4 separate regions of the Homo sapiens genome follow, and all the other regions are linked to region 3. The links are contacts of gene promoters, found by promoter capture Hi-C in human tissues and cell types (Jung and others, 2019). All regions are on one chromosome and are shown on one strand. The core of a region is centred on a gene start or on the middle of the fragment in contact, and the rest is flanking DNA. Distances in the headings are between cores, read along the strand shown. Region 1 holds the start of CEP41 (centrosomal protein 41). Region 2 has its middle 14 kb from the start of CEP41. Region 3 holds the start of CPA4 (carboxypeptidase A4). Region 4 overlaps KLHDC10 (kelch domain containing 10).

Region 1 (6,456 bases), core at 3,597-6,096, 140 kb before region 3:
TTGGATCCAAGAACCAGCCGGGTTCTATAATCTCTCTATAATGCTTCCTGTGCAGTCCAAATGTGACAACCACGATGACTAGTGAGGCAAGTAAACCAGATGTTCTCTGGAACAAAAGAGAGACAACCGTACAAAGAAGTGAGCCAAAACACTGAAGAATGGAAGTTGAATGGACTGTTGGACCTACTTGTACTTTCTGCTGTTTTGGCTTTTTGACTGTTGTTCTTTAACTTGATTAATGCATTATCGCCCATCTACTCAGTTCCTCAAGTTAGAGAAACTATAGCCATCTTTGATGAATTTCTATTCCTTGCACCCCTTACCTCTTCTCATGTATACTATTGATTTTACCTACACGTCTTTAAATCTCTCCTTTTCTGTCTTTCTCACCACCTCTGAGTGTAGTCCCCTATCATCTCCCTCTCTCCTTTCCCGTTATTCTATCCATAATCTCTATGGTTACCCACAAGGTGCACCAGGTAAGCATACATTCTAAATACTAATGAATCTAGAAGTTTCTGCTTGCTATGCAAAAGCTTCTAGATTAACATTCTTCCCTCTGCCTCCTTCCAATTTTTTGCAGCCTTCAAACCCTTCCTTAGCAGAGGAGTGAGAGACTGAGAATTTTAGAGGGGTTAAAGAACTGGCAAAGATTATGGAAATTAAGACAAAACTTAATAAACATGAAAGAGTGACATGAAAAGTCCAAGAAGCAGCTGTGGCCAGAATTCAAAATTCTGGTCAAGCAGCACTGACTGGCAACATGATCCAAGGTGTAGCCCTAAGGTTGGGTTGCTGAAGTGCCTAAGAGAACAAGGGCATGTGAGGCCATGTTGTTGAATGGGTCATCTCACAGACCCTGAAGTAGCTCAAATGTGTGCTATTATTCACTAACAGACAACTGGCGAGTATGAACTGCTCAGAGTAACCTTTCTCCATTCCTGGAAAAACAACTTAGAGCAAAGGACAAAGGGTTACTGTGTTGTTCCTTTCATGTAAAAGGAAATAATAATTTTGATGGATTTGGTGGGACATTTAGGAGCCAAGTCAAACTGTGTGTGTAATTGTTTTGTAAAGGTGCTAGGACTTCATTTTCAGATCCGGAATGGGAACAGGTGGTGGCTGGTGGCAGGAGTCACAATGGTTTCCATGACGACGGGATTGGGTCCTAGTCATCCTCCCATTCTCCACAAGACCTACTGCAGCTTTTCTCATAAGGTGCTTATTAAGTATTTGTTAAATGAACGATGAACCACAGAATAGCGCGTGTGCTTTGCAATTAAGGATGTCGCTCTATAGCTAGCCTAAAAGCTTTTAAAGCACCGATAATTACTGTATTTACCCATGTATTTTGCATAATTCGCATATTAACTTAACCAGAAAATAATAAACCATACTCTCCCATTTCTGCTGAACAACCCTGGCCCATATAATATTCCCTGTTGTGGAATCAGTAGCCCAGATGTTTGGTTGAAACGGCCATAAAACGGAGCTGGGGGATGGGGAGTCTTGTGTTGTATTTATGGTTCCACATTAGCTAAAACTCGTGTTTTGTCCCGGCTCTCAAGCCACTGCCCCCGCCCCCGGCTTTGCGCAGGCGCCAGCCTTCCCCTCCCCCCGCGCCTCTCTTCCCGCCCTAAGGCTGGAGCCGGCGAGCCCCAGCCCAGAGAACAAAAGGCCTCGCTAGCCGGCGTCCCGCGTTGCCCTTGGCAACCATTGAGCGGCGTCTTGCCCTTCTGCGACCCTGAGATGAGAGAGTAAACGGGGCCCCCATTGGCCGGCCGGGGAAGACGGGCCAATCGGAGAAGAGGGTATAGGGAGGCGGCTGAACAAGGTTGTGGGGGTAGGAAGCTAGGGTTAGAGGCAACCCGTGAGGCTAGAACCCCGAACGTGGTCGGTTGGAGAAAATATGTCCCTCCGGAGGCACATTGGGAACCCTGAGGTGAGGGCCAGGTCTCGGCCGGAGAGCCGGAGGGGGCGGGCGCACCGGAAAAGGCTCATGTGGGCAGGGAAGAGCAGCCAGCGACTTCCGCCGCCCGGAAGGCGGGAAGGGGCCGGCGTGAGGAGGGGTCGGGATGCAGGGGCGGGGCGGGCCGGGCTTGGGGGCCGCGGGGCAGCGTTCAGGACCCCGTTTTGAGGAGCGATCTCTCCCCGCGTACGCACGCCAGTACTTGTGACTGCGAGGAGCGAAGTACCCAAAGACACAGCCCTTGCCCTCAAATGGCTTACAGTCTCGGAGTGACAGTTACAAAACAGAAAAGACAAAGGAAGCGCTGCACACTAATGGCACGTGTTGAAAGCCAGCCAGCATCTCTGATTGTGGGGATACAGGAAGAGCAGGAGTAAGCTGACCAAACCTTTGGAAAACGGGCAAAATAGGACATTAGGCTTACCCCTCTCTCCATAGGACCCTTCAGTTTCTTCATCTGTTTCACCGCTAGTCCCCTGCTGCATTTGTGGCAGTTTCAACAAACGTTATTGGAAACTTCCACGGTGCAGTAGGTGCTAGACGTACAAAGAAGACAAGGCCTCTGCCCTTTAATAAATTGCGTATAGTGGACCAGGCGCGGTGGCTCAGCCTGTAATCCCAGCACTTTGGGAGGCCGAGGCGGGCGGATCACGAAGTCAGAAGTTTGAGACCAGCCTGGCCAACATGGCGAAACCCCGTCTCTACTAAAAATACAAAAATTAGCCGGGCGTGGTGGTGAGGCGCCTGTAATCCCAGCTACTCGGTAGGCTGAGGCAGGAGAATCGCTTGAACCCAGGAGATGGAGGTTCCAGTGAGCCGAGATCGTGCCATTGCACTCCAGCCTGGGTGATAAGAGCGACTCTGTCTCAAAAAAATAAAAATAAACAATAAATAAATTGCGTCTAGTGAAGGAGCCTGTGAACAGAATTTGAGTACAGTGTGGTCGGGGAGCAAGATGTTACGAGAAAATAGGTAGTACTCAACTGAGGGAGTGAGAGAAGGGTTGTGGAGATGGAAGGGGTGGCAAGGCCATTCATTAGCCAGGTGAAGCATCATCCCGGGTAGAACAGCCCAAGTGAAGGTAAGGAGTGTGTGAACTCAGAACAGGCCCCTGTAGGAGTCCAGGCTTTCTCTGCCTTGCTGAGGTTCTTAGCCTTTATCCCAAATAGGAGTTGTAACTGTTTCATCTCTTGGTGGCTGCCTGGTACTAGGCTGAGAAAGCTGTAAGGCTGAGTCTAAGCCCTGCAAGAGAGCCATGGTCAATTGGTAATGTCTAAATGCTGCATGATCTCACTTATACGTGGCATCTTAAAAAGTCCAGCTCATAGAAGTAGAGAATAAAATGGTGGTTACCAGAGCCTGGAGGGTGGGGGGAAGGAGGGCAGAAATGGGAAGATGTTGATCCAAGGGCACAAAGTTACAGTTAAACAGGAGGAATGGTTTTTGAGATCTCTGGCACAGCATGGTGACTATAGTTAATAATAATTACAGCAGACTCATAACCCCCAGTAGAAAATCCATGTACAACTTTTTACTCCCCTCCCCCCTGCAAAAAAACTTAACTACTAATAGCCTACTATTGACTGGAAGGCTTCCTGATAACAGAAACACTTGATTAACATATTTTGTATCTCATATGTATTATGTACTGAATTCTTAAAGTAAGCTGGAGGAAAGATTATTATTAAGAAAATCATAAGGAAGAGAAAATATATTTACTATTCATTAAGTGGCAGTGTATCATCATAAACATCTTCATCCTAATTGTCTTCATTGCTAAGGGGCAAGGAAAAGGAGGGGTTGGTCTTGCTGCCTTAGGGGTGACAGAGGCAGAAGAAAATCTGGGTATAAGTGGATCTGCACAGTTCAAGCCCATGTTGTCCAAAGTTCAACTATATTGTAGATTTCAAAATAGAGTAAATTGTATATTTTATGAGAGTAAATTTCAAATATCTCACCTCAAAAAAAAGATAAGTGGGTTGATGGATATGTTAATTTGATTTAATCATTCCACATTGTGTGTGTGTGTATATACCAAAACATCAAATTGTACCCCATAAATGTATAAAGTTATGATTTGTCTATCAAAATATTAATAAAAATGTTAATATTGTGTATCATGGGGGTGGGAGAGATAGGTGAGGAGAATGGCAGTTTGCCACATATTTATCTTGTCTGCTGGTCAGGATTTGAGAAATTTTTTGAGTTATTAAAGGAGTGACATGGTCAGATTTGCATTTTAGGCAGATGGCTGTAGCTACATTGTGGAAGATGGGTTTGAGGAGGCTCCAGGACTGGAAATGAGATTGGTTAAGTGGTTACTATTTTTTATTTATTTATTTATTTTTGAGACAGAGTCTCACTCTGTCACCCAGGCTGGAGTGCAGTGGGGAGATTTCAGCTCACTGCAACCTCCACCTCCCGGGCTCAAGCAATTATCCAGCCTCAGCTTCCTGGGTAGCTGAGACTATGGCGCACACCAACAAAGCCTGGCTGGTTTTTGTGGATTTTGTAAAGATGCGGTTTTACCATGTTGCCCAGTCTGGTCTCAAACTTTTGAGCTCAAAGCCACCCGCCTGCCTTGGCCTCCCAAAGTGCTGGTATTACAGGCATGAGCCACCGCGCCCTGCCAATAGTTACTATTTTGATAGAGATCTAAACTAAGGCCATTGAACTAGGGATGGAATCGAGGATAAATATTTACGGGGGCAAAATCATCAATACTTCCTGATTAGCTTTGAGAGATGCGTGATGGGTGACTTAAGTCTCAGCTTAGACTACTCATTGGTGCTGGCGCCATGAGTGAGATCAAGAATATGGGAGAACGAAAAGGAGGAATAGTTTTAGGAGTGTGGGGGAAGAGGAGCAAGTATGTTCCGTGTGGTTATGTTTGTGCCCGAGACAAAGATGCCCAGTTTACTCTCTTGTTTGAATAGAGCACAACTTCTAGTAGTTTCTTAAGAAAGAATTCATAAGAAATAGTTTTAAAAATTTATGTCTAAAATGTTAGGCATGTCTAAAAATATTCTTATTCTACCTTAACATTTATTTGCCAGTGAGTTTGGCTGAGTATAGAATTATTGGTTGAAAATCATCAACATCTTTTTTTTTCTTTTTCTTTTTTTTTTTTTTTTTTTTTTTTGAGACAGTCTTGCTTTGTCACCCAGGCTGGAGTGCAGTGGTACAAACATGGCTCACTATATCCTTGACCTCCTGGGCTCAAATGATTCTCCCACTTCCTGAGTAGCTGGGACCACAGGTGTGTGTCATCGTGCCCAGCTCATTTTTTTGTATTTTTTATAGAGATGGGGTCTCCCTATGTTGCCCAAGAGGGTCTTGAACTCCTGGGCTCAAGCAATCCTGCCTTGGGCTCCCAAAGTGCTAGGATTACAGGTGTGAGCCACCACACCTGGCCATCATCAGCATCTTGCAAAACATTGCTTAGTGGTCTAGTGTCTTGTGTTGTTGTGAAGTCCAAAGCCATTCTCTTGCTTTGTGACTGAATTTTCCTCTCAGGAAGCTTGTGGAACCTTTTTTTTTTGTCCCCAGTGTGACTTTACAAAGATATTTATATTTTCACTCATTTTGATAGGCACCAGAAATTTATGTCTTTTTAGTCTGAAAATTTTCTTAACTTTCTCTCTCCTATTTTCTCCATCCTCTTTTTCTTGAATTCATTATTCTGATGTTCTGTATTCATATAGATAACCTATATGACTGGTTCTCTGATTTTCGTAACTTTCATCTCCTGTTTCCCTCATCTTTGTCTTTCTGCTCCCTTTGGGAGATTTAATTTTTATCTTCCAATCCTTCATTTTAGTTTTTAATTTCTGCCATCATGTTTTTAATTTGTTTGTTTGTTTGTTTTGAGATAAACTCTCACTCTGTTGCCCAGGCTGGAGTGCAGTGGTGCGATTTCGGCTCACTACAACCTCCGCCTCCCAGGTTCAAGCGATTCTCCTGCCTCAGCTTCCCAAGTAGCTGGGATTACAGGCACCTGCCACCACGCCCAGCTAATTTTTTTGTATTTTTAGTAGAGACGGGGTTTTACCATGTTGGTCAGGCTGGTCTTGAACTCCTGACTTCAAGCCATCCACCTGCTGCCTTGGCCTTCCAAAGTGATGGGATTACAGGTGTGAGCCACTGTGCCCAGCCCATGTTTTTAATTTTTAAGAGCTCTGTTTTTTGCTCTGTTGTACTTTTAAAAAACGTTTTATTTCAAAATAAGTATAGATTCACAGGAAGTTGCAAAAAAAAAAAAAATAGTACAAAGAAGTCCTATGTATCCTTCACCCATTTTCCCCAATGATTATATTTTACATGAGTACAGTACAGTATCAAACTAGAAAATAGAAATTTGCACAATGTATGTATAGTTCTAGGCCATTTTATCACTTGTATAGATTTAATCAAGATTTACATATATGTAGATTTGCAATCAAGATAAAGAACTATTGCATCACTAGAAATATCTCCAAGCTACTCTT
Region 2 (6,984 bases), core at 2,130-4,629, 160 kb before region 3:
TCTCTCTCTATACACACACACACACACACACACACACACACACACACACACACTATGTTTTTTTCTATGCATACAGACCCATGATAAAGTTTAATTTGTGAATTAGGCAAAATAAGCAATTAACAAAAATAGGCAATAAAATAGAACAATTATAACAATAAACTGTAATAAAAGTTATGTGAATGTGTGCTCTCACTCTCTCAAAATTTCTTAATATTTTAGACCACGGTTGACTGTGGGTAACTAAAACCACGAATGGAAAGTGAAACCTCAAATAAGGGAGGACTACTATATTCAAGACTGTATGATTCTGCCAGAAGGGTAGACATATAGATAAATGGAATAGACTTGAGAGTTCAGAAATAAGCCCATACATTTATGGTCAACTGATTTTTGACAAGGGTGCCAAGACAATTCACTAGGGAGAAAACAGTCCTTTCAACAAATGTTTCTGGGGCAAGCAGTTACCCCCATACAAAAGAAAGAAGTTGGGCTCCTACCTCATACTAAATACAAAAATTAACTCAAAGTGGATCAAAGACCTAACTGTAGGAGCTAAAACTGTAAAACTCTTAGAATAAAATATAGGGGTAAATCTTCATAAATGTAGGTTAAGCATTGTTTCTTAGATATGACACAAGAAACAAAAGAAACCAAGCAAATATAGATAAATTGGACTTCATCAAAATTAAATACTCTTGTGCTTCAAAGGACATGACCCATAAAGTGAGAAAACGACCCACAAAATGGGAGAAAATATTTGCAAATCACATGTCTGATAAGAGTCTAGTGTCCAGAAAATATAAAAGAATTATTTTAGCTTAACAATTAGAAAACAAGAATGAATTAATTTTAATGTTGGCAAAGGACTTGAATAAATATTTCTTCCAGGCTGGGCTCAGTGGCTTATGCTTGTAACCCCAACACTTTGGAAGGCTGAGAAGGGAAGATTACTTGAGTCCAGGTGTTTGAGACAAGCCTGGGCAACATAGCAGGACTTCATCTCTACAAAAATTTTTAAATTAGCTGGGTGTAGTGCCATGTGCCCGTAGTCCTAAGTACTTGGGAGGCTGAGGTGAGAGAATTGCTTGAGCGTGAGAAGTGGAGGCTGCATTGAGCCATGGTCATGCCACTGCACTCCAACCTGGGTAACAGAGCAGGACCCTACCCCAAAACAAAATAAAACAAACTAAAAATTTTTTTCAAAGAAGATATAAAAATGACCAATAAGCATATGAAAAGATGCTCAACATCATTAGCCATCAGGTAACGAAAACCAAAACCACAATAAGATACCACTTCATACACAGTAGGAAGGTTTTTATTATTATTATTATTTTTTGAGATGGAGTCTCACTCTGTCACCCAGGCTAGAGTGCAATGGTTTGATCTCAGCTTACCGCAACCTCCGCCTCCTGAGTTCAAGTGATTCTCCTGCCTCAGCCTCCCAAGTACCTGGGATTACAGGTATGCACCACTGTACGTGGCTAACTTTTTTGTATTTTTAGTAGAGACGGGGTTTCGCCATGTTGGCCAGGCTGGCCTTGAACTCCTGACCTCAGGTGATCCAGCCGCCTCTGCCTCCCAAAGTGCTGGGATCACAGGCATGAGCCACTGCACCTGGCCAGGAAGGTTATTATTTTTTAAATGGACAATAGCAAGTGTCGGAGAGGATAGGAGAAATTGGAACCCTCATACATTGCTGGTGGAAATGTAAACTGTTGCAGCTGCTTTGGAAAACAGTTTGGCTTTTCTTTCTTTTTTTTTTTTTTAGAGACAGGGTCTCGCTCTGTCACCCAGGCCAGAGTGTGGTGGCACAATCACGGCTCACTGCAGCCTCAGTCTCCTGGGTTCAAGTGATTCTCCCACCTCAACCTCCTGGGTAGCTGGGACCACAGGCATGCGCCACCACACCTGGCTAATCTTTTATATCTTTTGTAGATATAGAGTCTTGCCATGTTACCCAGGGTTGTCTGGAACTCCTGGGCTCAAGCAATCCTCCTGTCTCAGCCTCCCAAAAGTGCTGGGATTATAGGCATGAGCCATCGTGCCCAGCCTTGCAGTTTGGCTTTTCCTCAGAAAGTTAAACATAAAGTTACCATGTGGCAAAATTCCACTCTTAGGCATATACCCAAGAGAATTGAAAACATATGTTCACACAAAAACCTGTAAATGGATGATCATAGCAGCATTATTCAAAATAGTCAAAAAGTCAAACCCCTGGTCGCAGTGGCTCACGCCTATAATCCCAGCACTTTGGGAGGCAGAGACGGGTGGATCACTTGAAGTCAGGAGTTCAAGACCAGCCTGACCAACATGGTGAAACCCTGTCTCTACTAAAAATAGAAAATTAGCTGGGCATGGTGGCTGGCGCATGCCTGTAATCCCAGCTACTTGGGAGGCTGAGGCAGGAGAATCACTTGAATCCAGGAGGCAGAGGTTGCAGTGAGCCGAGACTGCGCCATTGCACTACAGTCTGGGCAACAAGAGCAAAATTCCATCTGAAAAGAAAAAAAAAAAAGGTCAAACCAACCCAGTGTTCATCAACTAATAAATGGATCAACAAAATTTAATATATCCATACAATGGGATATTATTCATCCACAAAAAGGAATGAGGTAATCATACATACCATAACATGGATGAACTTTAAAAACATTATATTAAATGAAAGAAGCCAGCTACAAAAGGCCACATGTTATATGATTCCACGTACATGCACTGTCCATAATAGGCAAATCCATAGAGACAAAGTAAATTATTGCTTCCTGGGGTGGAGAAAGGGGAGATGGGGTACTAATGTATATGTGGCTTCTTTTTGGGGTGATAAAAATAATTTGGAATTATATAGTGGAGATGGTGCCACAACCTTGTAAAATATGGTATGTAAATATATGGTATGTATGGGTGAGTTTACAGTATGTAAATTGTATCTCAATAAAAAAGGGAATATACAATTGCTAAGCCCCACATTAATATCTTTTTGCCTCTTTCTTTGTGTTTATATGTAATGTTTTAACCAAATGACATATTACTAAATATACTCTCTGGAAACTTCAGTTGCCTTTCCATTTCTGTAAGTTTCCATTTCAACTAACCCTCAATCATATTCAAATTTTTCCATTTGCTTAAAAATTTTTCTTTACAGTTAGTTTGCCCTAATGGATGGCCAATCTAGGACCATGTATTGCATCTTGTTTTGATGTCCCTTTAATCTCTTTGAAGCTAGCACAGTACCTTTTCCATGAGTTTGGCCTGCTGAAGAGGCCAGGTCAGTTATCTTGCAGAATGTCCTTCTGATTTTTCTGATTGCTTCTTCATGACGCCATTCAGCTTGTTCCTCCATCTCTTGTTTTCCCATAAAAGTTATATCTGAACTCTATGTTTCAGTTCAATACATTTTGCTAGAACATACCATAAATTATATTGTATGCTGCATCAAGTTACATCAGGGGACACATAATATCTAGCTGACTATCTGATACGGTTTGGCTGTGTCCCACCCAAATCTCATCTTGAATTGTAACTCCCACAATTCCCACATGTTGTGGGAGGGACCCAGTGGGAGGTAATTGAGTCATCGGGGTGGATCTTTCCTGTGCTGTTCTAGTGAAGGTGAGTAAATCTCAAGAGATCTGATGGCTTTATAAGGTAAGTTCCCCTGTACAAACTCTCTGTCTCTTTGCCTGTTGCCATTCATGTAAGATGTGATTTGTTCCTCCTTGCCCTCTGCCATGATTGTGAGGCTTCCCCAGACACATGGAACTGTAAGTCCATCAAACCTCTTTCTTCTGTAAATTGCCCAGTCTTGGATATGTCTTTATCAGCAGCATGAATAGACTAATACACTACCCATTAGTAAAACTAAGATTGACCACCCCCAGATATGAGGATGCTGACAACCTGACCCCTTCATTGTATGTTTTTTCCTCCTTGCCACTGAGAAGCTGTCTGGGATGTGTTTGTTTGGTACTATACAAGTATCTAGCTCCCCAGCATTTTTTTTTAACAACAATTGAAGCTTTTTGCCTGAATCAGTAATTTTATTTGGGCTTCCAAAATTTTGCTTTTCTTATTTTATAATTCCTTCTGCATTTATTTGATGACATTCTTCTGACAGAGCTTTTCCTCACCAACTGGGGACTATTTGCTTACCCTGAAATCAGTTCCTGCTAGAAAGGAAGAATAAATGCTTAATTTCCTCCAGTTAACTACGAATTTTTAGGTTTTTTTTCTTTTCTTAGAATAGGGTTCACCAACCCCATCTTCCTTCTCTCTACTTTCTACAGATCTTCCTTTCAACCTGAAAATGTATACAAGGCCTCTCTCCAGCCCAACAACAATCCATTTGGCATTTCCTCTCAGTAATTCCATTAACTTAGCTCCTAAATTTTTCCAGAACTCAAAGCAGCCCATCAAGATAAAGCACCCCAGAATAGCCACAGCACTACCAAAACGTTGGTGGAGGCCTTAGGACCAACAGAAATTATCCAAGCATCCATCCCAACAGGACTAACTCAACAGGGTAGAGGCTGGCCATCTCCTTCTCCTTCCTCCATTCCACTTATGCCTGAGTCCTTGACAGGGTGAACCACAGCCAGAGTCATCTCGATATCAGCTGTGTTCTCTGGAAGTGTTTTTTCCTAATCCCTGACCTTTGAAAATTATTGCTAAGGTGCATGAATGTATTGGCAGGGAACCACAGCACAGGAAGATAGAACTGTATCATGATAAAGAAAATGTGGTACATATACACCCTGGAATACTACACAGCCATTAAAAAAAAAAAGAAATCACGTCCTTTGCAGCAACATGGATGCAGCTGGGGGCCATTATCCTAAGTGAATTAACACAGAAACAGAAAATCAAATACCACATGTCCCCACTTATAAGTGAGAGCTAAACATTGGGTACACACAGACATAAAGATGGAAACAACAGACACAGCACTCTAAAAGGAAGGAGGGAAGGAGGGGGCAAGGGTTGAAAAACTACCTATTGGGTACTATGTTCACCATTTGGATGACAATTTCCATAGAAGCTCAAGTCTCAGCATCATGAAATATATCAATATAACAAACCTGCACATGTACCCCCTGAATCTTAAAAACAAAACACTGTATCATGAGCAGAGACCAGGCTTCTGAAGAAGAGGAAAAACCCTGCGGGAAGGTCCTGCCCATCAACACTGACTGTGGGTCCAAAGCCCTTTACCTCTATGAGGAAGAGGTAAGCCCAAAGCAAGATGGGTTTATACCTGGAGGAGCTGTGGCTGACTCCTCATACTTTGTCCTCAGCCCACACTGGCTGGGTAAGGGTGCAAACAAAGGGGAGCAGGACCTTGCTGGCAGTCCTAGCAAGAGCTGGAAGAAGGAGCACCTCTGCAGACCCTGGGGTATATAAACTGACTGATATAGAAACCAGAACACCAATGCATTCGTATACAAAGAGAACGCTCCTTGCCAAATGGACCAGATGTTCATGTTGACTGGTCAGCGCATTCTCTCCTGTTGGAAAATCTACATGGGAAGCCAAATTATAATCAGGAGGCTGTTTGTGAGCATGAAATCAGAACAAAGGGAGGGAATTGGATGAGCTCTGTGGCATCCATAGGGATATAGGGTGGACTGCATACTTGTGCCTAATGGTCAAAAAACAACTCTTTCCCTTGACAGGGCTAGAGACATCATGACAAATGTTTGTTCCTTGGCTCCACTTTTCAGCACTCCCTATAGACCACCCCCCTTCTGCTCACATATTCTTTCTTCAGCTGTTAAGGCCATTGATTAGGTTACAGCTTTCCTTCACATTCCGTCATGCTTTGATTAGGTTTCCAGGCACTGTTGCATCCTGTTTCTTAGGATGATATTTGCAGACATTTATTCACATCCATCGTGTGTGGATTTCACCAGTTTAACAATCAAAAGATACTATTTATCAGATTGGGAGATACTTCACATTATGCCCTATATACTGATTCACTAGACAGTAGAAAAAAAGGTGGTGAATGACCAGTATGCTAAAGGGGGAAGCTTCTCATGTCCTGGTCTTCCATGTCCCTTCACGAGCATTGTCCCATAATTATATTAATTTGACAACTATTGATTGAGTGCCTGCCATACACCAGACACCATACCAGGTACTAGGAATATAAAGAATGAGACATGATATCCCTGCCTTCAAGGAGCTGATAGGGTAGTGAAGAAGGCAGACAAGAAAGTCGCCTATCACAGTATAGCATGGCAGCCCACAGATGCCTTTAAAAAGAGCGCCTCCCAAAGTCTGGGATGAGGGTTGGTGGTCGCCCAGGAAGCCTTCCAGAAGGAGGTGATTTCCATCTTTATCCTAAAGCACAAGTAGAAGGTAACCAGATGAAGAGTGGGAGAACTTATCAAACAGAAGGACAAGCAGGCACAAAGACTCAGGGCAGAGACAACACGGCACATTTGAAGAGCTGTCTTCAGAATGGCAAGAACTCTTGGTATGGTAAAAGACTGAGTGGAAGTGATTGGTAGAGGACAGGATTTCAAAGGCCTCATTGTGGAGGTTCACTGCAGGGTTCTAAAGCCTACTCTGAAATTAATATAGCTGGTATAGCTTTGGTTGTGTTCTGTCTGTTTTTATTGTAGTAAAACGTACATAACATGAAGTTTACCACTTTAAACATTTAGATCTGCAATTGAGTGGCATTAAGTACATTCATAATATTGCATAACCATCTATTTCCAAAACTTTAACTCTGTAACTTTAAAACTCTGTAACTTTGTTTTTTTGTTTTTGTTGTTGTTGTTGTTGTTTTTAAGTTTTTGTTTTTTGAGAGGGAGTCTTGCTCTGTCACCCAGGCTGGAGTGCAGTGGCACAATCTTGGCTCACTGCAACCTCTGCCTCCCAGGTTCAAGCGATTCTGTCGCCTCAGCCTCCCAAGTAGCTGGGATTACAGGCACCCGCCACCCTGCCCGGCTAATTTTTGTATTTTTAGTAGAG
Region 3 (6,199 bases), core at 1-2,500:
AGACACAGGTGTGAACAGAAGTCATCATCATAAAACTTAGTCAATCTCATATAAGTAATTACCTCAAAAAACAACCCCAAAGTCTCATTAGCCAGATAGTAAAATAGAAAGAAAACTAAGAGACAGATCCAAGAGATATAGGATTTTATTTGGAGATGAACTTGTGTTATAGCAAAAGGGTACGAGTTTTACGTTCAGAGTTCCAGCTCCCCTGCTTCCCAGCTAAGTGGCCTTGAGCGCGTTCCTTAACATTCTAAGGCTGATTTTTTTCATGTTTAAGTGGAAGAAAATAACACCCCTGCCTGGCAAAGTTGTTGTGTGATCAAAAAGATAATGTACATGAAAGCTCTTTGCAAATGGTAAAGTATTATGCAGTAATGAGTTATTATAATTCAGTCTTCTAACAGGGCACCATGGTATCCCTTTTATCTCTCCTACCACCCAAATGTCCTCTCCCCTGCAAACCTCAAAGTATTCTGCATGGAGCGTGTTGAGCACGTGTGTGTGTGCACACACACACGCGCACACACACACGGTGTTCAGGCATGTGTCTCTGCATGTCATTTTCATAGCTGTGTCTAGGCAAGACCTGTGAAATCTCCACGTCCCAGAAGCCAGTAAGAAAGCACCAGCTCAGAAGAGGGTGTAGCTCAGGGGTAGAGCATTAAACTGCAGATCAAGAGAAGGCACCAGCTCTGCAAAGCCTTCGCCATTAACAAAGAAGTGAAACCAACAAGCTTGAGACCCAGGGTTTCCCTTTATGCATGGCGGAAATTGGAAACAAACCATTTCTGGTAACCAGTAACTCTTAGTAATTAATAACGTAGCTCTTAGTAACCAGTAACTCTTAGTAATTAATAAGGTAGGAGTAAGAAAGTAGATGCCTGGAACTGACCTTATAAGTAAGAACTAGGCAGAAAAAGAACTGGCAGGAGATGAGGGAGCTGGGGAGAGACTGCAATGATCATCTAGTCCTGATTTCACAGATGAAATGGGGTCTCAGAGAAGAGAGTGGACTTGTCCAGGATGACACAGGGGCAAAGCTGGAACAAGAGCCCAGGTCTTCTTCCTCCATGTGAGCTATTATCAGCCATTCATTTTCAGTTCCATTTGGCTCCCATATTTCTGAAATAACCAAATAATAAGTCCAAAAGGAACTTACCCAAAAAATTTTTCTTGGCCACAGATGCTGGACCCAATAAGGGCCCCAATGAACAGTATCCACCTCATGTCCCCGGGGAGTCAGTCATACAGTGGCTGAGTCAAGCTGTATTTATAAAGAGTCTGAGAGTGACTCAAGTCCTCAAAAATGCTAATGTGATTCCCAAGCACCCTTGCAACTCTGACTGTGACAGGCAGGCCCTACCAATGCCTCTCCCATTCCTTTCAAGTGATAAAGGTTGAGCATCTCAATTTACAAGGTCAGGAACTTGCTCCAGGAGCTGAAAAAGTCTGTGCCAAGGGTACCATATTGCTCATCACTTGGCATTTAAATAGTGTTTTTTCAGTGAATAAGCTAATTCCACAGTGTTGGATGGAATTTATCCTGATAGGAGAGGTCAGATTATAAACCTGGCATAGAATTACCTCTAGAATAATAATAAAAAAGTTAAGACTATCAAAGCAAGACTGAGCTGGCTCCAAGACCACATGCTTGACAAGCCCTGCCAGAGAATTTCACCAGGGCAGGTCAGGATGAGGAAAGAGGTTTGGGGCCTCTTTTATGTATCTGAAGCCTAATTCTTCTGACTCCACTAAGGAAATAGAAATGTATCAGGCAAATGATATAGAAAGGATGTTTTAGTCTGAATAAATTATCAGTGTTCCTTGGGGTCTGATCTATGGGGAAGGCTTAATGGTTTTATCAATAATAAGATTTTCAGCCGGGCGAGGTGGCTCATGCCTGTAATCCTAGCACTTTGGGAGGCCGAGGTGGGCGGATCACGAGGTCAGGAGATTGAGACCATCCTGGCTATCACAGTGAAACCTCGTCTCTACTAAAAATACAAAAAATTAGCCGGGCGTGGTGGCGGACGCCTGTAGTCCCAGCTACTCAGGAGAATGGCGTGAACCTGGGAGGCGGAGCTTGCAGTGAGCCGAGATCGCACCACTGCACTCCAGCCTGGGCGACAGAGTGAGACTCCATCTCAAATAAATAAATAAATAAATAATAAGATTTTCTTATACTTCCTAGACTGTGGGTCTGGTGTCCTTTCCGCCAAGTCACAGCTGAATAAATGGAAGACACTCATATCTCCATAACGCCTTCAGGGGCTCTGGGACCTTTGAGTCTGTCCTGGGAGCCCCAGTTCCCACAGCCTTTCCCATCCCACCCTCCCTACGGTCTACATGCTTTCCACACCCACTCAAAGGGAGTGGACACAACCAAGGGTCATAGTTGAGAGAGTTAAAGAAAAACTATCCTGACCTGTGTTAAAATGTAAGACCTAATTCAAGATTATTATGATTAGGACCATGGCTATTTCAGTAGGAAAGACTTACTGTGCTTAACACTGAATACGGCAAAGAAAACAGAGAGGATCAGTGGGATTACTAAGAGAAGACATCAAGGTAGGGGGATTCTTGCTAAAAGCAGGCCAAGGACTTATACATCAAAGTCCCCATCAAAGGTGGGGATGAGGAACTTGATCAGATATCAAGGTGGGAGGGATGACTTCGCAGGATCTTTGCTCAGGCTGGCTTAGCCAGGGCTCAAGAACCAGCCTAATCAAAAGGAGGGTGCAGAATCTCAAGTGTGGTCCCAGAGAGAGCCTTTGTTAGGAGCTGTGGAGCTAGGGGCCATCATCTCCTCTTGCTCCCTCAGGGTCCTTTTGTCCTCTCAACACTTCAACTGAATTCCTACACCCACCCTGTCCACCACAAAGCGTGGGCTCAGCGTCACTGAGATCGATGTCAGCTTTGAAGTCAGCAACAAGAACAACTGAGACCCAAATCTGTAAGAGATGTGAAGTGGGAGAATCAAGGACCAAGCATTCTAGGCAAGCTGAAATTTAGTTCCTACCTTTTCTCCCAGGGAAAATCATCCACATGAAGAAAACCTAAATCCCTAATGGGAGTCAATATCTAAAGAGAAACTGTGTGCAACCTGAGACCGAGGCTTGATAGGGCAACCAGGAAAAAGGAATGTCATTGGCTTGGGTCCCCACCATTTGTGTGTTTGTTTTTTTTGAGACAGAGTTTCACTCTGTCGACCAGGCTGGAGTACAGTGGTGCGACCATAGCTCACTGAAGTCTCAAACTCTTGGGCTCGAGTGATCCTCCCAACTTAGCCTCCCAAGCAGCTGAGACTAAAGATGTTTGCCACCATGACGGGTGCTTTGTTTTGTTTTTGTACAGACGGGGTCTCACTGTGTTGCTCAGGCTGATCTCAAACTCCTGATCCTCCCACCTCAGCCTTCCAAAGTGCTGAGATCACGGGCCTGAGTCACCATGCCCTGCCCCACAAGTCTTCATAAAGCAGCACACCAGGAAAGGAAAAACCAAAGGCAACAATGGAACCAGGTATAGCACCTGGCACGAGGCCTGGCACAGTGCAGTTGCTTCATGAGTATTTATTGAATACATGAACTTGAAAGTCCATTGCTAGCCCTAAAATGCTACACTCTTACGATGAAGCAGTGACACATGCTACACCATGGATGAACCTTGAAAACATTATATTAACCAAAAAAAAAAAAAAAAATGCTAGCCACAAAAGGGCAAATACTGTTTAATTCCGCTTATACGAAATACCTAGAATAGGCTAATTCGTAGAGACAGAAAGTAGCTAGTAGTTGCCAGGGGCTGAAGGGCAAGAGGAATGGGGAGTTATGGTTTAATGGGGAAGAGTTTCAGTCTGGGATGATAGGAAAGTTCTGGAGATGGATGATGGTGATGGTGGCATAACGTTGTGAATGTACTTAATGCCAATGAATTGTACACTTAAAAATGGTCAAAATTGTAAGTTTTGTGTATAATTTAACACAATAAAAAACTGTCAAATGGGGCCAGGCACGGTGGCTCACGCCTGTAATCCCAGCACTTTGGGAGGCCGAGGCGAGTGGATCACTTCAGGTCAGGAGTTCAAGACCAGCCTGGCCAAAATGGTGAAACCCTGTCTCTACTAAAACTACAAAAATTAGCCAGGCATGGTGGCAGGTGCCTGTAATCCCAGCTACTTGAGAGGCTGAGGCAGGAGAATTGCTTGAACCTGGGAGGCAGAAGTTGCAGTGAGCCGAGATCGCGCCATTGCACTCCAGCCTGGGTGACAGAGTGAGACTCTGTCTCAAAAGGAAAACAAAAACAAAAACTGTCAAATGATGTTGGGAGCACTCTGCTCCGGATGGATTTTTTTTTTTAATATTATTCTTTTTAGAGATGGGGTCTCCCCATGTTGCCCAGGCTGATCTCAAACTCCTGGGCTCAAGCAGTCGTCCCACCTCAGCCTCCCAAAGTGCTGGGATTTCAGGTGAGCCACCACGCCTGGCCCCAGGATGGATTTTCTAAAAGATGAAGGGGTACAATGCCATGACTTGTTGTGTTTGAGGGCAGCAGAAACTGGAGAAACGGTGCTGCCAGATCAGGCTTAGAAAAATAAACAACACAACCCAACTTTGCTTCAAACCAAAGAGATTTTAATGGCTCTTGTTTCTTCCCCAGGGCCCTAATAGGGGTGGTCTCGCACATGCTCCATGATTGCCTTCAAGCCAAGCCAGGTCTCCTCGGCTGTGGGCAGGATCTGACGGGCTGGCAAGAGGAAGCCGTAGCGCCCTGTGTCTCTCAGTTCAAAGGCAAATGAGTACTTGATGCCATAATCATAGGACCAGTCAATGCTTCCTCCACTGGCTTGGTCTGAAGTGCAAACGAGAATAAAGTTTGGTTACACGACTACCACTAGCCTTCACGCAATGGAACCTCTATATTAAATTCTACTATCATAGGTAAGCCAGGCCCCTAGGTGTGAACTGTAAGAGGGGGGAGAGTTTAGTAGAGGGTCACATTTATGAAAAAACACAATAATTTGAAAAGCAAAAGGTGTTATTCAGCGGACACTGAACTGAGCCTTCCTTCAGTGCTCTTAGGAGCCCACGCCATCCTAAGTGGCCTCTTCTCCACCTTAGGTAGGCCACACCACTTCCTTCTTTAGAAGGCACAGACATGGTTTTCTCTAGTGGGAGTGGAGGGATTACAAATGCAGTAAGAGATTTGGTCCCTACCCTCAGGGGACTTTGAGCATTAAGGGTGGAGCACTCTCTGCTCTGCTATCAAATTGCAGGTACAGCACCTCTGTGTGGTGGGTTCAGCCAACACAGTAATGTGCACCTGAGATCTGTGTGGCCGCTGATGTGACAGATGAAGAAGGAAGATGGCATTAACTTACAAGTCAGTCATGACTCAGAAAAGCCGAGCAATGGACCGGCCCTGTGGCCCCTCCCAGGAAGGGCAGTTAGAGGTCACAGGAGGACTCGGCTGAGGCACAGATGTCGGAAGCTACCTAGTCCCTAAGAATGGGGCTGGAAAGACCAGGGAGGTTGTACCAGAAAAGAGTAGGGCTAGAGGTTAATATTGTGAATTAATATTGTCAACGCCCATGATTTTTGTCTTTGCCTTCACCCAGCAGAGCAGCTTGGAAATTAATGCCTGGTAAATAATAAATACTAAATGGTTGCTGATTTGAACTGAATCTTCCCTGGACCAAAATTACCAACTCATACCTTTTGGTGTGTCTACATGACACAGCCAATCACACTAAGAGGTCAACTGTAGACAGAATACTGGTCTCAGATAGAATCCCAACCCTACAAATCATTATCTGAGTGACCTAAAGCAAGTCATCTATTTCCAGATGCTTCACCTGTCACATAGGGATGATATTACTACTTGTTTCACAGGGGAGTGAGAATTAAATGGCATAATGGTTGTGATGACACTATTGGCTGTGTCAATGTGCTAGGCACTATGTTAAACTGGTTGTGAATCTCTAGGTAGGTACTAGCATTATTCCCATTTTACAGATGAGGAAACTGAGATTAAGAGATTAAGTGGCAAGGCATCGTGGATCTCTGCCAACACTTTGGGGACCAAGGCAGGAGGATCACTTGAGCCCAGGAGTTTGAGACCAGCCTGGGCAACATAGCGAGACCCTGTCGCTACAAAAAAATTTTTTAAAAAATGAACTAGATGTGGTGGCACATGCCTG
Region 4 (6,279 bases), core at 1,807-4,306, 180 kb after region 3:
ATATTTTTAAACCAGAGCTGAAATTGTGCACAGATTGAGAGCAACAAAAAACAGTGAATCACTGAGTCACTCACGTCCAACCTGTTAGTCGTGTTTGAAAGTCTTTGATGGTTCCTCACCACTCAAGTATCAAGTCCCCTGCCCAACATGTTAGAGCTTTTCTCCTACTAACCTTGTCCTACTGTCAGTTTCTCATACTTCTCTCTGCTTGGAAATCCCAGAGTTCCTCCCTTACACCTTGGCCTAGTCTACCTACCTACCCATCAATCCCTACTTGTGGAAATACCTAAGTCTAGTGCACACCACCCTTTTCATCAAATGAACCCTTCCAGTTCAGTACCATACTACTCATATATTAGTGTATACATGTACAATTAATAAGATCACACCTTAACTATGTAAATACATGAATATCAGGCAAACTATAATCAGTTGGCAAATTTACTATTTACCTTAAATGAAGAACTCAGTTCCTCTTTTTAGGACTCTTGAAACAGAAAGTGTGGTGTGGAAGAAAAAATAAGAGCTCCTATAAATGTCTAAGTTTGAATCCAGGTTCTTTCTAATTGCTACTTTGAGCAAGTCACTGACCTTCATTTAGTCTCAGCTTCCTCATTTGCATATTGGGATATTATTACTGCACTTCAAAGATTTGTTAGATTTGTCATGTTGAAATGTTTATTGGCTTATACAGGTAACTTTCTAGGAGGCTGTGAGCTATTTGAGGGAAAAGGAATACATTTGTATTTACCTTTCTATAACCAAGCCTCGGGCACACAGCAAACACTAAATGAAACGGGAATCAATTTATTTGGCATTTAATTTTTTCTATGCATTTTGTCAGTTTGTTTTTCTTTTCCAAACAGTTTATAAGCTCCTCAAGGGCAAAGGTCATGTATAATAATTATCCTGTATCACCCACAACACCTAAAACAGTTAGTACCTAAAAACAGGTACTAAAAGTTTGGTTGACTTTAACGTCAGGCCAAAGTAAACAGCGACAGGGAAGATTAAAACAGTGTCTAACTCTCAGTGGACTTTGGTATTATTATGCCTAACAGATACATGGTTTAAGGCACGGGTGTTGGATTATGCAATGTTCTTCTCAAGGCACAAATGCTTCTTTCTAAGAATTAGCAAGACAAATTTAAAGAAGAAATCTAACAGAGTTGCTATGTTCAGCAGACAGGAACTCTAAAAATCTCTGTCATTTGCTGTATTACCTGAAGCCAACAGATAATTTTTAAAGCTGCTTTTGGGCAAATATGAAAAGAAATGCAGTCTATTCTACATTTTCTCTAAATGGCTGTACAGCAGGGAAAGTAATGTTATAAGTTTATTGCCAACTATCTCTGTGACAAATACAATTCACATGGATTACACAGTTGAGGGGTCTGTGAAAAGACGGTTTCATATTTCTCTACTCACTCACTCAGGTCAAAAATATTGGGCCAGGCATGGTGGCTCACACCTGTAATCCAAGCACTTTGGGAAGCCAAGGCGGGTGGATGACCTGAGGTCAGGATTTTGAGACCAGCCTGGTCAACATGGTGAAACCCCGTCTCTACTAAAAATACGAAAACTAGCCAGGTGTGGTGGCAGGCAGGTGTAATCCCAGCTACTCGGAAGGCTGAGGCAGGAGAATTGCTTGAACCTGGGAGGTGGAGGTTGCAGTGAGTCAAGATCGTGCCACTGCACTCCAGCCTGGGTGACAAGAGCAAAACTCCGTCTCAAAAAAAAAAAAAAAGTTACTATTGGATGCTGGCTATGTACTAAGTACCATGTACTGTGCTAGGTGCTGGGGATACAGTGATAAGGCAATGACTACCTCTGTCCTTGGGAGCTTACAGTCCAGCCTGCACAGCCCAAGTCAGTAGCCATGAGCCATAACATATGGCTCCTGAGCACTTGAAATGTGGGTGGTCCAAACTGAACTGTGCTTTACATGTAAAATACTCACTGGATTTCAAAGACTTAGTACCCAAAAATGAATGTGAAATTATTAGTTTTCATATTGATTGTATGTTGAAATGATATTTTTAATATACTGGGTTAAATAAAAATATTAAATAAAATTAATGTTACCTGTCTGTTTTACTTTTTTAAATGTGGGTACTGGAAAAATTTTAATTTTGTGGTTTACCTATTTCTGACACAGTGCTGATCCAGCCCAACTGTTGGTTTCTGTTAATAATTTCACGATCTCTGCAAATCACACTTTTGGGTAAAGAGCATCTAATCAATATTTGATAAATATTAAACATCCTGTCAAGGAATCTCATAGCTGAGAGTAAAAATGCAACTCCTCTTTCTCTCTCGCCAGTAACTACAGATTTCTTTCTCATATTTATAACCCAAGAGTGACTAACATATTAAAAAGCCATTCCATTTTGGATAAACCATGGGAATTGTCTGTCTGGATTAATGCCACGGAGACTAAGCATTAATTTTTATTAGGTGAAATATAGCATAGGGTCCTCAACCTTGACAAAACTGAAATTGTGTTTCAGGGTCTAAAGTAGCTCTCTAAATCCTCCCCCAACTTCTCCATCTGCAAATCCCATTTTCCTAAAAATTACTTGCTGCTAATAAAATCTACCATAGAATTCGTTTACCTGATTCAGGAACTCCCAGTGGGAAATGTAAAAGCAAAAAATTAAAACAGAACCTGTATTCACAGGTAAACACTTAATATCCAGAAGGGAACATGAAGCTAAAGGATTATGTCCCTGTGATGTGGGACCCATCCTCTCTTCCATGTCACAAGGACTTGCTCTTTACCCAGGGAGCAAGCAGGAACTTACGGTAACCAGGGAAATGGGTTTCAGTTTCTAGCCCAAAGGCAGAAAGAAGCTAGCTGTCTGAGATAATGTGACAGAAGGTTAAGTTGTTTCCAATGTTTTCACTACTACAAATAATATTGTAACAAAGCTTCCTCTACATATATTTGTATACAAATGTATGAGAATTTCTGGAGGTAGAATTTCTAGGTCAAAGGAATATGCATTTAAAATTTTTATAGAAAAAATAAAAAATACAAAACAAAAAATTTTTAATAGATACAATACTGTTATAGGGCCATACTGCTTTCCAAATAGAATGGACCCATTTCTACTCCCAGCAATGTTATGCCAGTGCCTACTTCTTCATGCTTTCTTTAGCCTTCTCAAATTTGTGCCAATCTGATGGGTATAAATTGGTGTCAGGTTAATCTGCATTTCCCTTATTTTACTAGTTCACATGTTTATTGGCCCATTTGTATTTCTTCTTTTTGGAACTGCCGGATCATCTCCTTTGCCTACTTTTTAGATCTATTAGGTTGTCTTCTCACCATTGTGTAATTTTTTTTTCTTTTTCCTTTGAGACAGGGTCTTACTCTGTCGCTCAGGCTGAGTGAGACCTACCTGTGGTAGCATAATCACAGCGCACTGCAGCTTCAACCTCTCTTCCTCAAGTGATCCTCTCACCTCAGCATCTAAAGTAGTTGGGACTATAGGCATGAGCCACCACACCTAGCTACTTCTTTTATTTTTTTTGTAGAGATGAGGCATCATTATGTTGCCCAGGCTGGTCTTGAACTTCTAATCTAAGCTCAAATGATCCTCCTGCCCCAGCCATCCAAAGTGCTGGGATCACAGGCATAAGCCACCTTGCCTGGCCCCAAATTCTTTATTTTATATGTATTTCTTCCAGCCTGCTCCTTGTCTTTTGTTTACGGCATCTATTAACATACAGAGGTGTTGAGTCTCTCAATCTTGTCTTTTACAGCTCCCTTGTTCTATATTTCATTCACCTCTGCATTATTATAAAATGATTAAGATATTGTCATTTGTTTCGAATAATTTCATGTTTTGATTTTTTATATTCAGAATTCGAATACATCAGAATTTATATTTTTGTGTGTTGTATAAGGTAGGGCTCTAATTTTTCCTCCCAAAATAAACAGGCTACTGTCCCCAAACCACTTAAAGAAAGCCACCCCTCCTATACTTATTTGAAATGCCACCTTTACCATATACTAAATCGACATGTTCTAGAGTAGAATTAGGAAAATCCCAATATTCAGGTCTAATCCCCTTGGACACAAAATTTATTGCTCTTTAAGAATATATGAATGTAAATATATATAAACAATATGTAAATATATAAAAGAACATCACAGAAGCTTAAATACAAAAGCTTGTAAATAAAGTAGTACATAACATTTACTGCTTAGTAAGTCTATTACTTACAAGATGTAGCCACCTACAGATGTGCTAATGAACATTTGTGGTGAGGCCATTTTAAAAAAAAACTTATTATTAAAAGTATTCATTAGTTATAAATATCGAACAGCCTAAATGATTAATCAATTTAACTGGTTACTTCTTTCCAAATGTAAAGGCCACAATTACCTCTACCACAAAAGACAGGTCTTCTGTTGGACCTAGAAGCCTCAAGGAAAGCCAAGGAAGTTTGATCCAGTTAGCTCTCCCATATCCCCCAAAAGGCAGGTACAACTTTTTACTACTCCCAGAGCCCAAGTTGCTCAGACCAAAGCAATCCATTCACACCAGCCCACAATATTACTTGTTGGTTATATAAGCATCTCCTACCACAGGGCCTCCCAAAGTGCTGGGATTACAGGTGTTAGTCACCATGCCTGGCCCTCATTACCACATTGTTTTAATTATTATAGCTTTGAACTATCTTTCAATATTTAGAACAAATTCCCTTTTGTATTACTTTTTCCCAAAAACTTCTAGTTATTTTTCTCCATTTACTTTTGCAATGAATTTTAGAATGAGTTTGTTAAGTCTATAAAAAGTCCCATGGACAGACAGCATCTTATCCAGGTGATCAAAATTAACATCACCAGTAATGGGACAAATCAATCAACATCATGTGCAATGAGATGATCACAATATTATTTCAGTGGTAGTCCTGCCAAAAATATATAAGCTGAATGTAACTATGAGAAAATGGGGAGAAACCCAAACAAAGGGACGTTTTACAATATACCTAGCCTGCAACTGTTCAAAAATATCAATGTCAAAAAGACAAACGCTGAGAAACTGTTCAACACTGAAGGAGGCTAAAGATACATGACAACAGAATGTAACACACAATCTCAGATTTTCTACTGCTATTAAAGAACATTATTGGCCCAGCACGGTGGGTCATGCCTGTAATCCCAGCACTATGGGAGGCTGAGGCGGGCAGATTGCCTGAGGTCAGGAGTTTGAGACCAGCCTGACTAACATGGTGAAACCCTATCTCTACTAAAAATACAAAAATTAGCCACGCGTGGTGGTGGGCACCTGTGATCCCAGCTACTCGGGAGGCTGAGGCATGAGAATCGCTTGAAACTGAGAGGTGGAAGTTGCAATGAGCTGAGATTGCACCACTGCACTCCAGCCTGGGCAACAGAGTGAGACTCCGTCTCAAAACAAACAAACAAAAAGAACATTATTAGGATAGTGGCAAAATAATAATGGCAAAATCTGAAACAAGGTCTGTAACTTATATAGTAGTATTAATTGTACCCATTATTTATAGGGTTAATAATCAGTGTTGATGCCTAATTTTGATACAGGTTCTGCAGTTATGGAAGAGAATGTCTGTTTTTCAGGAGCAAACACTTTGGTACACAGACATAAAGAGATATGGCAAAATAGTGAAACCCTATCTGTACCGACCCTGCCAAAAAAAATTAGCCAGGCATGGTGGCACATTCCTGTAGTCCCAGCTACGTGGGTGGCTGAGGTGGGCTGGAGGATCGCTTGAGTGCAGTAAGCTATGATTGCACCCCTGCACTTCAGCCTGGGTGACAGAACAAAACTTCATCTCTAAAAAAAATTAAATTTTAAAAAATTAAAAAAAAAAAAAAGAGACCTGCTGGGCTCAGTGGCTCACATCTGTAATCCCAGCACTGTGGGAGGCCAAGGCGGGTGGATCACTTGAGATTAGGAGTTCGAGACCAGCCTGGTCAACACGGTGAAACCCTGACCCTACTAAAAAAATACAGGGTGTGGTGGCGCACACCTGCAGTCCCAGCTACTCAGGAGGCTGAGGCGGAAGAATCACTTAGACCCCGGAGGCGGAGGCTGCAGTGAGCTGAGATGGCGCTGTTGCACTCCAGCCTGGGCGACAGGGTGACAGCCTGTCTCAAAAAAAGAGAGAGAGAGCAAGACATCATGTCTGCAATTTTCAAATGGTTGAAACAGAAAAATATGTATGTGCGTATTGTGTATAAAGGGGGGAAGGGAGAGAGGAGAGGGAGCAGGATAAAGTAAAAGA

Evidence for each region. Contacts are between HindIII fragments. The study calls those that stand out against the background at their distance.
Region 1: a contact is called between a fragment that was not itself captured here and the fragment with the promoter of CPA4 in region 3, in 2 of the 25 tissues and cell types used here (IMR-90 fibroblasts and aorta).
Region 2: a contact is called between a fragment that was not itself captured here and the fragment with the promoter of CPA4 in region 3, in 1 of the 25 tissues and cell types used here (mesenchymal stem cells).
Region 4: a contact is called between a fragment that was not itself captured here and the fragment with the promoter of CPA4 in region 3, in 2 of the 25 tissues and cell types used here (lymphoblastoid cells and mesenchymal stem cells).

Annotation. Positions count from the first base shown.
Region 1 is chr7:130,436,420-130,442,875 of GRCh38, reverse strand. CEP41 (centrosomal protein 41) reads left to right here and starts at 1,860. Exons shown (of 11, transcript NM_018718.3): 1 at 1,860-1,942. The coding sequence starts at 1,910. It overlaps LOC105375505 (a long non-coding RNA gene), which reads right to left and starts at 1,122. Exons shown (of 3, transcript XR_927973.3): 1 at 188-1,122; 2 at 1-106. RefSeq lists an enhancer at 1,420-2,174. The HindIII fragment of the contact is 7,843 bases long and covers 925-6,456 here.
Region 2 is chr7:130,451,739-130,458,722 of GRCh38, reverse strand. No RefSeq gene overlaps it. Among named protein-coding and RNA genes, the nearest start is that of CEP41, 14 kb to the right of the region's middle. The HindIII fragment of the contact is 3,297 bases long and covers 1,731-5,027 here.
Region 3 is chr7:130,288,212-130,294,410 of GRCh38, reverse strand. CPA4 (carboxypeptidase A4) reads right to left here and starts at 1,250. Exons shown (of 11, transcript NM_016352.4): 1 at 1,163-1,250. The coding sequence starts at 1,230. CPA2 (carboxypeptidase A2) reads right to left here. Exons shown (of 11, transcript NM_001869.3): 11 at 4,613-4,851. The coding sequence ends at 4,664. RefSeq lists an enhancer at 756-845. The HindIII fragment of the contact is 11,774 bases long and covers 1-6,199 here.
Region 4 is chr7:130,108,803-130,115,081 of GRCh38, reverse strand. All of the region lies in intron 2 of KLHDC10 (kelch domain containing 10), which reads right to left. Among named protein-coding and RNA genes, the nearest start is that of LINC03008, 30 kb to the left of the region's middle. The HindIII fragment of the contact is 6,751 bases long and covers 1-6,279 here.